Linked DNA regions of Homo sapiens: regions 1, 2 and 4 are each linked to region 3. Evidence: promoter capture Hi-C in 16 types of primary human blood cells and fetal thymus (Javierre and others, 2016). All regions are on one chromosome and are shown on one strand. The core of a region is centred on a gene start or on the middle of the fragment in contact, and the rest is flanking DNA. Distances in the headings are between cores, read along the strand shown.

Evidence for each region. Contacts are between HindIII fragments. The CHiCAGO score rates a contact against its expected background, and 5 or more counts as called.
Region 1: a fragment that was not itself captured here is called in contact with the fragment with the promoter of FBXO8 in region 3 in 1 of 17 cell types (non-activated CD4 T cells); the score reaches 5.6 in non-activated CD4 T cells.
Region 2: a contact is called between a fragment that was not itself captured here and the fragment with the promoter of FBXO8 in region 3, in 1 of 17 cell types (total CD4 T cells). The highest score is 6.4, in total CD4 T cells.
Region 4: a fragment that was not itself captured here is called in contact with the fragment with the promoter of FBXO8 in region 3 in 7 of 17 cell types (total CD4 T cells, non-activated CD4 T cells, activated CD4 T cells and 4 more); the score reaches 14.8 in total CD4 T cells.

Annotation. Positions count from the first base shown.
Region 1 is chr4:168,311,792-168,315,001 of GRCh38, reverse strand. The region is part of intron 1 of DDX60 (DExD/H-box helicase 60); the gene reads left to right. Among named protein-coding and RNA genes, the nearest start is that of DDX60, 5.4 kb to the left of the region's middle. The HindIII fragment of the contact is 3,125 bases long and covers 1-3,039 here.
Region 2 is chr4:168,469,039-168,472,656 of GRCh38, reverse strand. DDX60L (DExD/H-box 60 like) reads left to right here. Exons shown (of 38, transcript NM_001012967.3): 3 at 133-202; 4 at 721-910. LOC124900181 (small nucleolar RNA SNORA51) reads right to left here and starts at 1,248; the gene lies at 1,118-1,248. The HindIII fragment of the contact is 1,020 bases long and covers 1,389-2,408 here.
Region 3 is chr4:174,281,392-174,285,093 of GRCh38, reverse strand. It overlaps FBXO8 (F-box protein 8), which reads left to right and starts at 1,427. Exons shown (of 6, transcript NM_012180.3): 1 at 1,427-1,684. CEP44 (centrosomal protein 44) reads right to left here and starts at 1,183. Exons shown (of 12, transcript NM_001040157.3): 1 at 1,151-1,183. RefSeq lists a silencer at 951-1,218 and an enhancer at 983-1,232. The HindIII fragment of the contact is 4,999 bases long and covers 1-3,702 here.
Region 4 is chr4:169,010,548-169,014,216 of GRCh38, reverse strand. It overlaps CBR4-DT (CBR4 divergent transcript), which reads right to left. Exons shown (of 2, transcript NR_185919.1): 2 at 3,157-3,433. Among named protein-coding and RNA genes, the nearest start is that of CBR4-DT, 2.0 kb to the right of the region's middle. RefSeq lists an enhancer at 3,583-3,669. The HindIII fragment of the contact is 3,187 bases long and covers 97-3,283 here.

The sequences.
Region 1 (3,210 bases), core at 228-2,727, 6.0 Mb after region 3:
GCCTGACTTCCATTTCTTTGTACCTTTTCTGTCTTTCTCTTTATTCTTGGAGCTCTGCAATTTTAACAAGTTGTGCCTAGGCGTAGTTTTCTCTTTTGTCATTATTTCTACTCAGTAGTTAGAGAAACATTTCAATCTAAACACATTATGTTGTTCTTTAGTTCTAGTCTAATATTAGTATATTAGTTTAAGTATATATCTTTGATTATTTTTATCCCCACTCATTTTGGAATCTTAGTTATCTCCTACTAGAAATATTAGTAGGGGGAGAAAGAGCTTATTGACTTATTCCTGGATATTTTAGTATTTTTAGAATTTTTTCATCTCTTTGTCTTTTACTTTTATCCTTTACAAAATTTCCTGGACTTTAACCCTACAGATCACTGACTAAAAATTCCAGCATGCTCATTTTATTGTTCTGCAATGACTTTCTTCCTTGTAAAATTATGTTTTAAATGTGTACGAATACTTGCATGCTTTCTTTTTCTCTTTCTCTCTCTCTAGCAGCCTGTTACTATTTTATGAGAAATATTTTTAATTCTTTGAAAGCAGTAATTAGAAAATTTTGAAGGTCTTTTCTGTCTCTGCATCATGCTTATTCATCTGGTTTCTTATTTTTGCTTTTTTTGTGTGCCTCAAATGTCTATTGGTACTAATTTGTGTGTGTGTGTGTGTGTGTGAGTGTTCAATCATTAGTTACTACAGGTGGCTGGATCTCTAGCATGTCTCTCCCTTAAATGACAGAGAAGTGGGGATAATGACTGTGAATTCTGTTTAGGTGTTAGGGCGTGCATGTGTTGGGGCAGAGGTTAATAGGGTAGCTCTAGTATAGGGTATATAAGAGGAAAGCCTAGGGTGTGTAAGCCTACTTTAGTATAGGGCATGTAAGAGGAAAGCCTATTAGGCTTTACACGCATTGTCTTGCATACCCTGTCCTATGTCATGCAGAGCAACCTGTAGGATCTCAAACTTCCCATAGGCAGGCTACGGAATCCCTTGATTGTCAAATTAAGGAGGGATTGCCCATTAACGCAGTTTTATTTTGTCACCATAGCTATTGCTGAAAGTTTCACAGTGTTTAACGGGCACTCACGTCTCAGTCATAGTTATATTTCATTATAAAAACTATATTATTCCTTTTAATCTATGTATATTATTTCTTAAAACAATTTCTAAGTTGTCAGGACATAAATAGTTATTAATTTGTTTGTATCTAACTACTTAATAAATGAAACGGTTAGCTATTGATTTTGTCCTAGGAGTGGCATAAAAAAATTCCTGAGACTCTAAGAGCATCGTGAACATCTGGGAACCTGTAAATTAACTTATTTCATCTTGTAGAATCTGATGCTATCCTTTCTGAAGTTTTCTGTAATATACTTGGGGTTAATTCTCTCTTGCCTGTTCAGTTCTCACTGACCCATTTTTTTCCATTTGAGCTTGGTACAATTTGGAGAGTTGAAGAAAGATAGTATGGCCAATGCACAGTTAGTGAGGTGGAGGATTGCATGAAATGGGTGACAGAGAGTTTTTTGAAAATACCTAATCTCCTGACCTGGGCACAAGACCCATTATAGTCTGGTTCTAACCTACCTTTCCAATGTCATCTCCAATGAGTCACCCTGTCCTATGCCATGTAGAACAACCCATAGGATCTCAAACTTGTCATGTAGTTTCACAACTTTATGCATTAAACTGATGCTGATTTTGCTACCTGAAAAGTAATTCTCTATATCTCTCACTTTCCCCAACATGCTTTCATAAGTCTTCATCATCTTTTCAACCTGTTCTTGAAACCTCAGAACACAGGACCCTGATCCCTTCATTCTGATTTAGGAACTCCCTCTCAATTCTCTAATGGCTTCCTGTGCCATTTCTGCTAGAACACAGCAAATTAGATGTAGTGTGTCACTTAGTTATCTTTCAACTTACACTGGGTTGTACAAGGAGAGAATCATGCTTCATGCATATTTGCATATGTTTCAGCAAGTACAATGTTTTGTAAAGTGTAGATACTCTATAATCTTTGAAATAAGATAGTAACTGAGTGAGTGAGAGACCATACTTACGCTCGTGTCTCCATTAAGGGTCCCTAAACTCCCCAGCCCACAGTAATTCCATTTTTCTTTAAACTTATTTGTCATTACAGTCATATACTTCCTTGCATTATTATTGTAATATTTAATATCAGCATGTGCATCACCATTATATGTTCCTTACTATCATGGAATAGGAATCTCTCTCTCTCTATCATATCTATCTATCTATCTATCTGTGTATCCATCATCTATATCTATCTATATCAATCAATCTATCTACTATCTATCCATAAATCATGTGTGTATCTACCTATCTGTTTCATAGCCCTAACATATTGAATGGCAAGTGTCTCAATATTTAGTGTCCATGACAAAATGCTCAAGTGCATTTTCATCTACCTCTTTAGTATTTTCTTCTCTATTACCTTTGTGGATTCTTCCTCCTCTCTTGATATATTAAGTATTAGTATCTTCAAATGTGGGTTTTTAGTACTCTTCTCCCATGATGCTGTCTCTCCCTGTCCAAGCAAGCTCATCTACACCAATGGCCTCATTTACCGTTAATACTCAGATGACTTACCTCTTCAAATCTAGTCCAGACTTTGTATTTGTCCTCTAGACTTGTATATTTTACTACTTACATATCATGGCTTATGGGGAATCTTGAAAGCAAGTCAAATTCAGGTGGTTCACAAATGCCGCCATAATCTTTTCCTGACACGTAGCCTTGTTCTAAAATTCCCAGCCCAGGGAATGGCCTAGTCATCCATCCTGTTACTTGAGCTAGAAACTTGTGTCATCCTTGACAACCCCCTTTCCTCTCTTGTCCATCCACATCCAGTCCAGTTCCAAATTATGTCAAGCTCATCTCCTAAATGTCCTTCAAGTGAGTCCACATCTCTCCAGCTTTATTATCTCAGCTACCATCAAACTATATTACATCAAATTATCATCATTACTCTCCTGCACAGTAACTTTCTTTCTGCTCTACTAAGAAGCTTACTCCCATCCTGTTTATTCTCTATATTGTAGCTGGACTAATCTTTTCAAAGTGCAAAGCCAATCACAATACCACCTGCTTAAAATCCATCAGTGGCTAACTTTTCATTCTAGGACGAAAAGAAAATTCTATAACATGACTTCAAAGGCTCTGCATGTCCTTCTATTTCTC
Region 2 (3,618 bases), core at 649-3,148, 5.8 Mb after region 3:
CAATCTTGTAAGATATTCAGATTCAATAATGTTACAAAGTAATTGGATGTCTATATTTCATTTCCTTAATAATTACTAAATTATATAGCTGTGTAAAAATATTGATGGCTCAAAAAATCTCCTTATTTTTAGGGTCAAAGGATCATGCAGTATTTTTCAGGGAAATGACACAGTTAATTTTGAATGAAATGCCAAAAGCTGGGTAAGTACTGTGAAGTAAAAAAGAAGGAGCTATACTATTGTATGCTCTGTGTTTCCACATCCCTCTTAACCCATATACATATACATGATCACTCAACCTATTTATCTTGGAGCAGCTTGGAGATGATGGGAACGCACTCTTCTTCCTATAGTTGTCTTAGCTGTCACTGAACAGATTGTTTCCTAAAACAATCAGATTCATGGAGCTGGGAGTTATATATGTCCTTATCCAGAATAACAGCCTTTAGAATCATATTCTCAAGTTCAAATCCTGGCTCTGCCATTTAGCATTGGATAATTTCCTTTGCCTCTCTGAGCCTAATTTTATTTTAATAAAATAGTAATTGTGCTATCTCCTTCTTATAAAGGACAGTTGCTTAAATGAGGTATTTGAAAAGGCATCATGGACTGGCATGAGGTACTCAACAAACAGTAGCTTATGCAATAATAGTAACAACAACAGCAACAAAGTCTCTGTGAAACATCTGTGATTTTTATTCTCTTTGATTTTTATTTTAGGTATTCCAGCATATTAAATGATTTTGTGGAATCTAATTTTTTTGTGATTGATGGAGATTCCTTGCTTGTCACATGCCTGGGTGTAAAATCATTCAAGTGGGGACAGAATCTCCACTTTTTCTATCTGGTTGAATGCTATCTTGTGGATCTTCTGAGTAACGGAGGACAATTCACCATAGTTTTCTTTAAGGTAATATATGATGATTGATGTCGTTTTAGTCCTTTGAAGACTATAACTGAAATGTCTTAACCTAAAGAGCCTTTGACCTAAAATGAAGCATGTCATCATAGAAAATATAAAAAGACAGGTTAACAAAAGAAAAAATTACCCATAATTTCACTACTCAGAGATAACCATTCTTTATTTTTTATTTTATTAAATTTTTTTCCCTCAACTCTATGTTCCCACATTCACAATATAGATCAGGCACAGAGCCTGGGCTGAGGGGTATATTGGGTAGGTTTACTCTACCTCCTTTTCTATATAGTCAGTGTAAGAATTCAGCCTGTGGTAAGCACCAGCAAGCCCATTCTTTAAGTTTCAATATTTTATTATAAAATTTCAAATACAGGTAAGTTGAAAGGTTGTAGAGCAAATATCTATATCCCACCATCTAAATCCTACAATTACATTTTATTTTACTTACTTCTTCATATATCTGTAAGCTTATCCATGCCTTTATTCACCTGTCAATCCTTTTATTTTGGGGGTACGTTTCAAAATAGTTGTAGACATTACATTTAACTCTGAAACACTTCATCATACATGCCATTAACTAGAGTTCGGTACTTATTTGCAGGTTTTTTTGATGGTAAAATTTACATGAAATAAAATGCACAGATCTTAAATGTGTTACAAAAAGTTTTGCTCCAACCTAATGCCATTTAACGATCTTTGGCACGTGCATAGTATTTACCAGTACATTGAGTTTTGACACACGCATGCACGTGTAACCCAAACTCTTGTTCCACAATACGTCTTCTCATGCCCCTGCCCAGTCCATCCTCATCCCATCCCCTAGAAGCAACCACTGTTTAAATCCTTTCTATTGCCTTCTTGAGTTTTGCCTGTTGTAGAACTTTCTTTTTTTTTTTTTAGATGGAGTTTCGCTCTTTTTGCACAGGCTGAAGTGCAATGCCGTGATCTCGGCTCACTGCAACCTCCACCTCCTAGGTTCAAGTGATTCTACTCTCTCAGCCTCCCAAGTAGCTGGGATTACAGGCGCGTGCCACCATGCTCAGCTAATTTTTGTATTTTTAGTAGAGACAGGGTTTCATCATATTGGTCAGGCTGGTGTCGAACACCTGACCTGAGGCAATCCACCCGCCTTGGTCTCCCAAAGTTCTAGAACTTTTAATAAATAGAATTTTACAGTATGAACTCTTTGTATAAACCTTTCATTCAACATAATATTTTTGAGAGGCATCCATTTTGTTGTGTGCAGTGGTATTTTGTTCCTTTTATCACTTTTGAGTAAGGTTTTATTGTAGAAATGTGCCACGGTTTGTTTACCCATTTTCTTGTTGAGTGGACACTTTCCTGTTGAGCAATCTCTTTCAATATCTTGCCTAGATGAATAAAGCTACTATGTGCATTCACATGCAAGTCTTCGTGTGGACGTAAGTTTTTATTTTCCTTGTGCATGTATCTGTGGTTGAAATATATGTTTTATAAAACTGCCAAAGCTTTTCCTAAGGTAGTTGTGCCCCTTTACACTCACTCCAGCAATGAATAACAGTTCTGGTGCCCTGTGTAGTTGCAAACATTTGTATTTGGTCAGTCCAGCCATTCTGGTGGATGTGTAGTGTTATGTCCCTGTGTTTTAATTGGTATTTATCAAATGGCTAATGATGTTGCCTACTTTTTCAAGTGCTTATTGTTCATTTGTATACTATGACTTGTGAAGCATCTGCTCGTATCTTTTGACCATTTTAAATTGGGTTCTTTATCTTTTTAATATTGAGTTGTAGTAGTTCTTGATATATTCTGTATACAACCTCTTGTCATGTATATTATTGCAAATATATTTTCCCAGTCTGTGGCTTGTCACTTCATTTTGAGACAGAGTCTCGCTCTGTCACGTAGGCTGGAGTGCAGTGGCGCAATCTTGGCTCACTGCAACCTCTGCCTCCCGGGTTCATGCCATTCTCCTGCCTCAGCCTCCTAAGTACTTGGAACTACAGGCATGCACTACCATGCCCGGCTAATTTTTTTGTATTTTTAGTAGACATGGGGTTTCATCGTGTTAGCAGGATGGTCTCAATCTCCGGACCTCGTGATCTACCCGCCTCTGCCTCCCAAAGTGCTGGGATTACAGGCATCAGCCACCGTGCCCGGCTGCCACTTCGTTTTCTTAGTACTATCTTTGGATGACCAGATATTTTAATTTTGGTGAAATCTAACTTATTATTCTTTAATGGTTATTGTGCCTGTATCCTGATAAGAATCATTGCCTATCTCTTAGTCACAAAGATATTTTCCTATATTTATTAATAATTCTAGAAGTATGTAGTTTCAGCTTTTGCATTTTGGTCTATGATATTTCTTGAATTAATTTTTGTGTGTTTGTGGTGTGAATGGGGGATTGAGGTTGATTTGTTCCAGCATCCATTGTTGAGAACATTTTTCTTCCACCAGTGGATTGCTTTGGTTTCTTCATCAAAAAATCAAATGATTATATATGTGTAGGTCCATTTCTGGGCTTTCTACTATGTTCCATCAAAGGATTTAACAAATTACCAGTACCACAATGTCCTGATTTGTGTAATTTTATAGTAAATCTTGAAGCCCACTTTGTTCTTCTTTGTTTAACTTTGGCTATTCTAGGTTCTCTGCATTTCCACACGAATTTTAGAATCAGCTTGCCAATTTCTATTTAAAAAGAACGATGGGATTTT
Region 3 (3,702 bases), core at 178-2,677:
CCTTCCTTGTCTACAAGTCAGATCTGCGCAATTGAACTTGTGGGAGAGGTTGTGAAAATAGTGTACTCTAGCAGTTTAGGATTTTCAACATCGCTCAATCTCATTGCTGTTAGAGGTCATTAAAACAATGCCTCCCAATAGAATGTCACTGGACCAGAGTGATTTTTGTTTAGAATGAAGCAACTACACTGACTCTAATAACAGTCAATGGCTAAGAGTTTGTGACATAGCACATAATGCTCGATATTATCTAAAAACACGTATCAAAAACAAAAAAGTAAAGATGAGAAAAACAGTTTATGAAACTGCAAAAGATATTAGGGAAATACTTCTCTAAGAGATAGGAGAAAGGTCTGAGAAAGGCAAAGCATCGAGAAAGCTGGGCGGGAGTGGGGAGGAGTAAGGGACAAGTAAAGAGTTCAACGGGACTGCTGTGTTCACACATAAAATTAAAAGGTCTGCAGATAATTCGGGAAAAAAACAGTCTAGCATGGCCATAATTCCAGAGTAAAAGAGAATAACAACTTCAAGATTAACTTGTTACAGTGAGGGAAAAATCTGTAGCCTTCAATAAAGGTGGAGAAATATTTGAAAAGCTGGGGAAATGCCAACAAGGAAAACACGAACTGCTGTCCTGTCTTCCTTATAGTCAGGAGCCGTTTGTATCCTCACCCCAGAGGATCCAATAGGAATCAGTAAGCCTATAACTTTCCAACCCTAAGTCACAACCTAATTCTGATAGGATGAGCTACCACGATACTTCCCACTTCGTTGTGACTAAAAGCATATACTAGTTGGGTATATAAGCAAGGCTCCCCTCCCGCCATTTGATTTAAAAGAATGAAAAGGCGGATCTGGTCATTCGTCTCCGCCCGGGGTCTCTGTAAGGACGGCGGAGAGAGGCGACCTCCGCCCAATACCAGGCGCAGCCTTGCCGTCTCCTCGGGGCTCACCAAGCAGCCACCAGCAAAGAAGCCGGTTTCAAAGGCCCAGCACGACAGGGAGAGGAAAACGGAGCATATGCAACCATACACAGTCACCAGAGTCCAGCCTCCCGCAACCAGTCGCTACAGCCAGGCGCCTGCGCCCAGAAGCGCTTCTCGCGCCGACCGTTTGTATTTGGAATTGTGGGTTCCTGCCCGCCACGCACCACCGCAAGACCTTCAAAGCTGGGAGCTTCTCTGTGCTCCAGGATTCCTCGCTGCCGATTCCACACCGCGTTCAAGACTCCTGTGAAGAGCGACTCCGCTGAGAGCCTCCTCAATGGCCAGTCCACTTCTAACTTGCAGCTGAGAAGTTTTTCTGATCTTGATGGTCAGAGTGGCTCGTGCTACGAAGTGAGAAACAAGGAATCTATAGCGAATCGTAAACAACAGAAATAAAAATGCGTCTCCGTTAAGAGTCGGAGCCTAACGTCACTTCCGGCAACAATAGGAAACGTCAAAATTGGGATAGTCGGCAGTTCTGGCCCCTGCAGCTGGAGGTACCCTGAGTTCTGAGGGTCGTAGTGCTGTTTCTGGTATTCTCATCGCGGTCACCTCTACCGGTGTGGACAAGTAAAGTTTGAATCAGCTTCTCCATGGCCTGGGCACCAGTTCCCGGCTGAGCCATTTTCCTTTTGGCTAAAAGTCCCCGCCCAGAGGCCAATTCGTCGCGGCGGCGGTGGAGATCGCAGGTCGCTCAGGTACAGGAGTCAACCTAGATATTTTAGATCTCTTGTCTCTTTTCCCTGTTCACCTTCACTTTTCTCGAAAATAAAGACAACCAGTGCTTGCCAGTTGGCCGAAACTGGCCGACCAGCAAGAGTTTGCGACCAATGACAGTGCGAAGCATCTTGAGTGACAGTAGTGGTGGCTCATTAAAGTGAGGAATCACTGTCAGGAGGCGGAACTGGGTGTGTTCCTTCTGTTTCTAGGCCATTGGGGTGTAGTTCGGTTTAGGACTCCAAGTAGTAACCCAGCGTCATTGTGAAATAAACCTGAGAAATGACAAGGGTTACTTTCTTCAGGTCCAAGTGTTGGTTTTCGGGTCGAGTGTTATTTTGGTTCCTAGACAGTTTTTGGTTCTTTACCACTTTCCAGTAATATGAATGCAAACACAAGTATAGTTAAGATCACGATGGATTGCTAGCTGCTACAGTAGTCAAACTTGGGTTATAAAACTTGTCAAACTTGTCTTTTATTTGTTTCTCAGCGACTGGGTTCTAATCTCTTACGTAGAAGGTTCTCAATATTTATTTGGCAAAATCACATAAATGGATCCCAATCCTCAGTCATTTAATTTTTTTAGTTTTATTTTTAGGTTCTGTATGAATTTACTAATAAAATAATTGATTCTACTTGTTTTACAAGTAAAATATTCATTTTCAAGGCTCCTAGGTGTATATCCACAAATGAATATATCATGATTTTTATTACGGTAAAGTGAAGACAATTTATGTTTTCTATTTCAGCTTTCCTCTTCCTTCTTTTAATGTTTGAAGTAATGTATTTCTGAGGTAGGAGCTCTACACACTTCTCAACTCTACCCTTCACGAAAATGATATGTGAAACAGAGTAGGTTTCAGAATAAAGAATGCATAAGTTTTATTATTTTTTTCATATTGGGTCAGAAATTCATCTTTAGCCAATTAACCTGACAATATGTCTGATGAGGTACTTCATTAGTTGTCTATTGCTGGGTAACAAATTACCCCCAAATTTACCCCAGCTTAAAACAACAAATATTATCAGTTTCTGTACATCAGGAATTAGGGTGCAGCGTAACTTCATTTAATAATAAGTTACAGCAAATTAACTAATATTACTTGGGGCCCTTGGATCAATTACTTCCATCCACAAAATATTATAGTAACTTCTAGATAAGCCAAAACATTGATCATAATTTATTACATATGGTCACTTTAATGGGGAATGTTTTGTGTGTTTACTGTTGCTAGGTTAAAAGATATCTTCCTCATTTTACAATATAAAAACATTGAATTACCAAATCTTTAATCACAGTGTGTTGAAATTAGTCATTCAGATTTGTAACTTTATGGTTTATTATTTAACCAACTGCTAATGTACAACTAATTTTTTCCTCATTTTGATTCAGATTTGGAAACTGGCACTATTCCATTGACTGACCCATGATAATGCATCAAAATCATTAATACTAAAGTCTAAGAATTATGCATTTAATTTCTGTTTCTTTTTCTTGAATTATTTTACTTAAATAATTTTTTAAACAATTTAAATGAAATACATCTATTTCTGGAAATTTATGTTCACTATTTCTTTTTCGTTTTGCTCTCATTGTTTTGTTTTTCTGACAAATTTCTTGACTTAGCTCTCTAATAAACTAAAACATTTTTGGCTGACTTGAATAAATTTATATCATATTTGGGGCAAGTATTTTTTTGAGACAGATTTTTATTCTGTTGCCCAGGCTGGAGTGCAGTGGTGCGAACAAGACTCACTGTAGCCTTGACCTCCTAGGTTCAAGCAATTCTCCCTCCCACCTCAGCCTTCAGAGTACCTGGGACCACAGGCACACGCCATCACGTGTGGTTATTTCTTTTAATTTTTTTGTCTGACTGTGCTGCCCAGGCTGGTCTTGAAGTCCTGAGCTCAAGCGATCCTCCTTCCACAGCCTCCCAAGGTTCAGGAATCATAGGTGTGAGCCACTGTGCTGGTGCAAGTACTTTATAGCAATATAAGA
Region 4 (3,669 bases), core at 441-2,940, 5.3 Mb after region 3:
AGTAACTCCATGAAATACAGACTTGAAGACACATACAAGGTAAGAGGACGGGTAAAGAAGGACATCAGCATGTCCTCCTTTGGGTCAGGAGAAGCTTCCATTGCAAGAGATGTTTGAGCCACATTTTGAATGATAAATCAGATGTTACCAGGGAAAGCAGTGGGAGCATTCGAGGTTGAGAAGACAGTGTTTGGAGAAGCATGGATGTGTAGAAGTTGGAATGGTATTTAGGGAGTAGAATCAGCAGGACTTTGTGACTGATTGGATGTGGGATGTTGAGAGAGGGAAGGAATAAACTCCATGCTTCTGCCTTAGGCAACTGAGTGCCAGGTTTAGGTCTCGGTGGGCAGCCTCAGAGGCATAAACGCCAATTCAACAAAATAACAAGCTCATGGGCCACATTTTTTGTTCCCAATCAAAATGAAATAAACTTTTGTAAGTGATAAAAAGTACATTCCTTACAATTTAGATTACCCAGCAGATTGGATACAAGAATGCCAATGAGGAAATCAACATGCTTTTTAATCATAAAAGTTATATCTGTGCAGCCACACTAAGGCAGCTTTCTAATCTTTCTTCTTGAAAGAAGAGCATGGTCTGTATGGAGAAGTTAGCTGGCCACATGCAATTTGGGTCGTGCAGATTATCATCACTGCCTGAAGAATCCTGGGAGACTGCTTGCTGGCAGGAAGGGTTATGCTTCAATTATGGATCTGATAAGCTGGATGTGCTTAGTATGGTGCATTTGTAAAGAGGATTCTCAATGAATATTCAATCATAATTCATAAATTTCTTATAAATAAATTTTCCTGCATATTTGGAATCTTGGGCATTATAAATCTTGACGTATGAAAAAAATATTCATGAAAGGTACAACCCCCTTATAATTAGTTGCAGATTCAAATTTCGTATAACAGGGCAGTAGGCTTTAAATTACATCTTTTTCAATAACAGTTCCATTGGGATATAATTTGCATACGATACAATTCACACGCTTAAAGTGTACAATGCTTTCAATGAGTTTTTATTTACTTTAAAAAGTTTATGTTTTCTAACTGTTAGCAATTAAATGGTATTCCTTTTGTAATCAGAAAAGTAATACTAGGTATGCATATTTAAAAATTTGTATAACAGTCCTTATACATAAGGAATTTTCTCCTTCGATTGTGGGAGCCAAGAGAAAATATATCCTATGTGGATTTAAGTTAAAGTATAACATATGGTTAAAATATTACCACAAAAGTGGCATGTTTAGTGAGAAGGAAAGACTAAAGGTGGGTCATTCTAATGGCTTCCTTCAATGTCCTGCTGGGTAGGGGAGACCCAGTTTAATTTACAGATCCTCACTTCACTATCAGGGGCTTACAGAGAAACTTCCCCTGCTGTAACCTTCTCAGCTAATGGGTGATGTGCTGTGATAGATGTATTCTCACCCGGGATAGTGGTGATATTGTATTAAGAGGGAAAAAAAATAAATAATAACCTTGAGGTTTAACCTGAGGTATGTGTTGAATAAAAAGCCCAGCTTATCCATTTACAGTATATATACAGTGAGAAAAGTTGGAAGGTTTTCAGAATTCTGAATGTCACCTCATATCATGTGTTAGTGATCTTCATGATAGATGGCATAGATCTAAAAACCATTTTTTTTTGCTAAAATAACAATGTGTAGAAAAAAAAATAATCATTTTCCTAGCAAATGGAGAGAACTGTTCAAAAGATAAACCTCTCTGGTTTGACCTAAGGTGCAGGAATACAGTTGGCATTTAGGCTGACCCTTATATTGGTAATTTATGTAAAACAGTTTTTTCTTTCCAAGATTGCATAGTGTATAGTAGGAAAGTGAATAGACAAATTTGATCTGACCCATTTTTACATCACTGGGAAACTGTTTGTTTGTTTTTTAGAACACTGTTATTTTGAGACAGGGTCCTGCTGTGTCATGCAGGCTGGACTGCAGTGGTGCAATCATGGCTCACTGCAGCCTTGACCTCCTGGACTTACATGATCCTCCCAACTCAGCCTCCCGAGTAGCTGGGACCACAGGTAGGCCACCATGTCCAGCTAATTTTTTTTTGTATTTTCTGTAGAGATGGGGGTCGGGGGGGTGGGGGTCTTGCTGTGTTTCCTGGGTTGGTTTTGAACTTCTAGACTCAAGCAATCCTCCTGTCTCAGCCTCCCAAAGTGCTGGGATTACAGGCATGAGCCACCACGCCTGGCCTGCTAATAGTTCTTAAATGCAGCTCTTATCTTATTACTTCTGCAGTTAAAGGCCTGTTTAATGCTTGGCACCTGACTTTAAAGCTGACTATAATATAGCACCATCCCAAATTTCCTCAGGCTTGTTTCCTCATTGTTTCAAACATATATTGTTTCAAAGACACAATTTTTATGTGTGACTGTTTGCTTATATTGTTTAACTTCCTATTGTATTTGCTTTTAATAAAGTCTAATAGATGCTATGAAAACAGCCTTACAATCTCTTTTTCTTTTCATGAAGCTCACTGTCTACTACAATGCTTAGTGTGCCATTTAGGAGGACCTATGAGGAGGGAGTTTTGCTCAGGCTTCTCTGCTGCATAACCAGGAGGCTGATTTCTTACAGAAATTACCACTTGTAATTATATTTCCTTTGTTGCTTTCGCTGGCAGGAAACTCTAAGTTTATGAATCTCTTCTTTAATACTAAATAGATTCTTATAGCATGACTTTATTCGTATTTTTTCCACTGACCTAATTTATTGTTCTGGCCTTGTGGGAGAAGGGGCAGTGGTCCTCTTTGCCTTTTAAATTCAAATACTCATGTATTTTTGCAAACCATTTCAAATCTTTTTTTGGATCTAAATGGAATAGGAATAACAAATTTAAATTAATGCTCAACTTGCTTATTTATAGACTTTTTGCTCTTGTTTTCCTTTTTTCAAACCTCATCCAGCCCTCAAATCCAGCTTTTCCATGCACCCCTTCATTCTTCACTGATCTCCATTTTCTCGGAGCTCTTGTGTTAATATAATTTTGCATTTTACTAAGTATGATTTTGGATACCTCCTAGTGTTTCATGTGTATTAGTCCTGTAGTTCTGGGTTGTAGTTTTTTTAGTGGTAGGGACCATGGCTCATACTTTTCTGAATCTAGTAAAATAATATTGTATCAGAAATGCTTTCTGTTTACACTATAATTGTAACAAACATTGAATTTTTTAGCTTATTAACTCTCAGAGCACCCAGTACATCTTATTTAGAATTGCAGGAACCCATTTTTGTTTCTCTACAGCAGCCGAAGCTTGTTTCATAGATCTTGCAAGACTATTCAATCATTCAGTTAAAATTCCTTGACCTCCTGCTGGATGATGTTCGACAGGGCATTCATCTTCACGACACCCTTCGCGATGAATGGTAACATCTGGGCGGGTAGAGGTCCATTTCTACAGCAACCTGGGGGAGGAACAGGTAGGGTAGGTTTTGGTGTGGGTGCGATTCTTGGGGACTTCTTCAACAGGTAGGACATCAAGTCTGTAGCCAAAACAACACCTGGGCGAAGGGCAAATACCGGAGCCCCGACCGGCTCACGCCCAGTAATGCTTTCTCTGGGTTCTAACTACGTGATCAGGTCGTCTTGGTTTGCCAGGGAAAGCCCAGCGTCTTGACAACCCTGTCAGTTCCGAACAAAC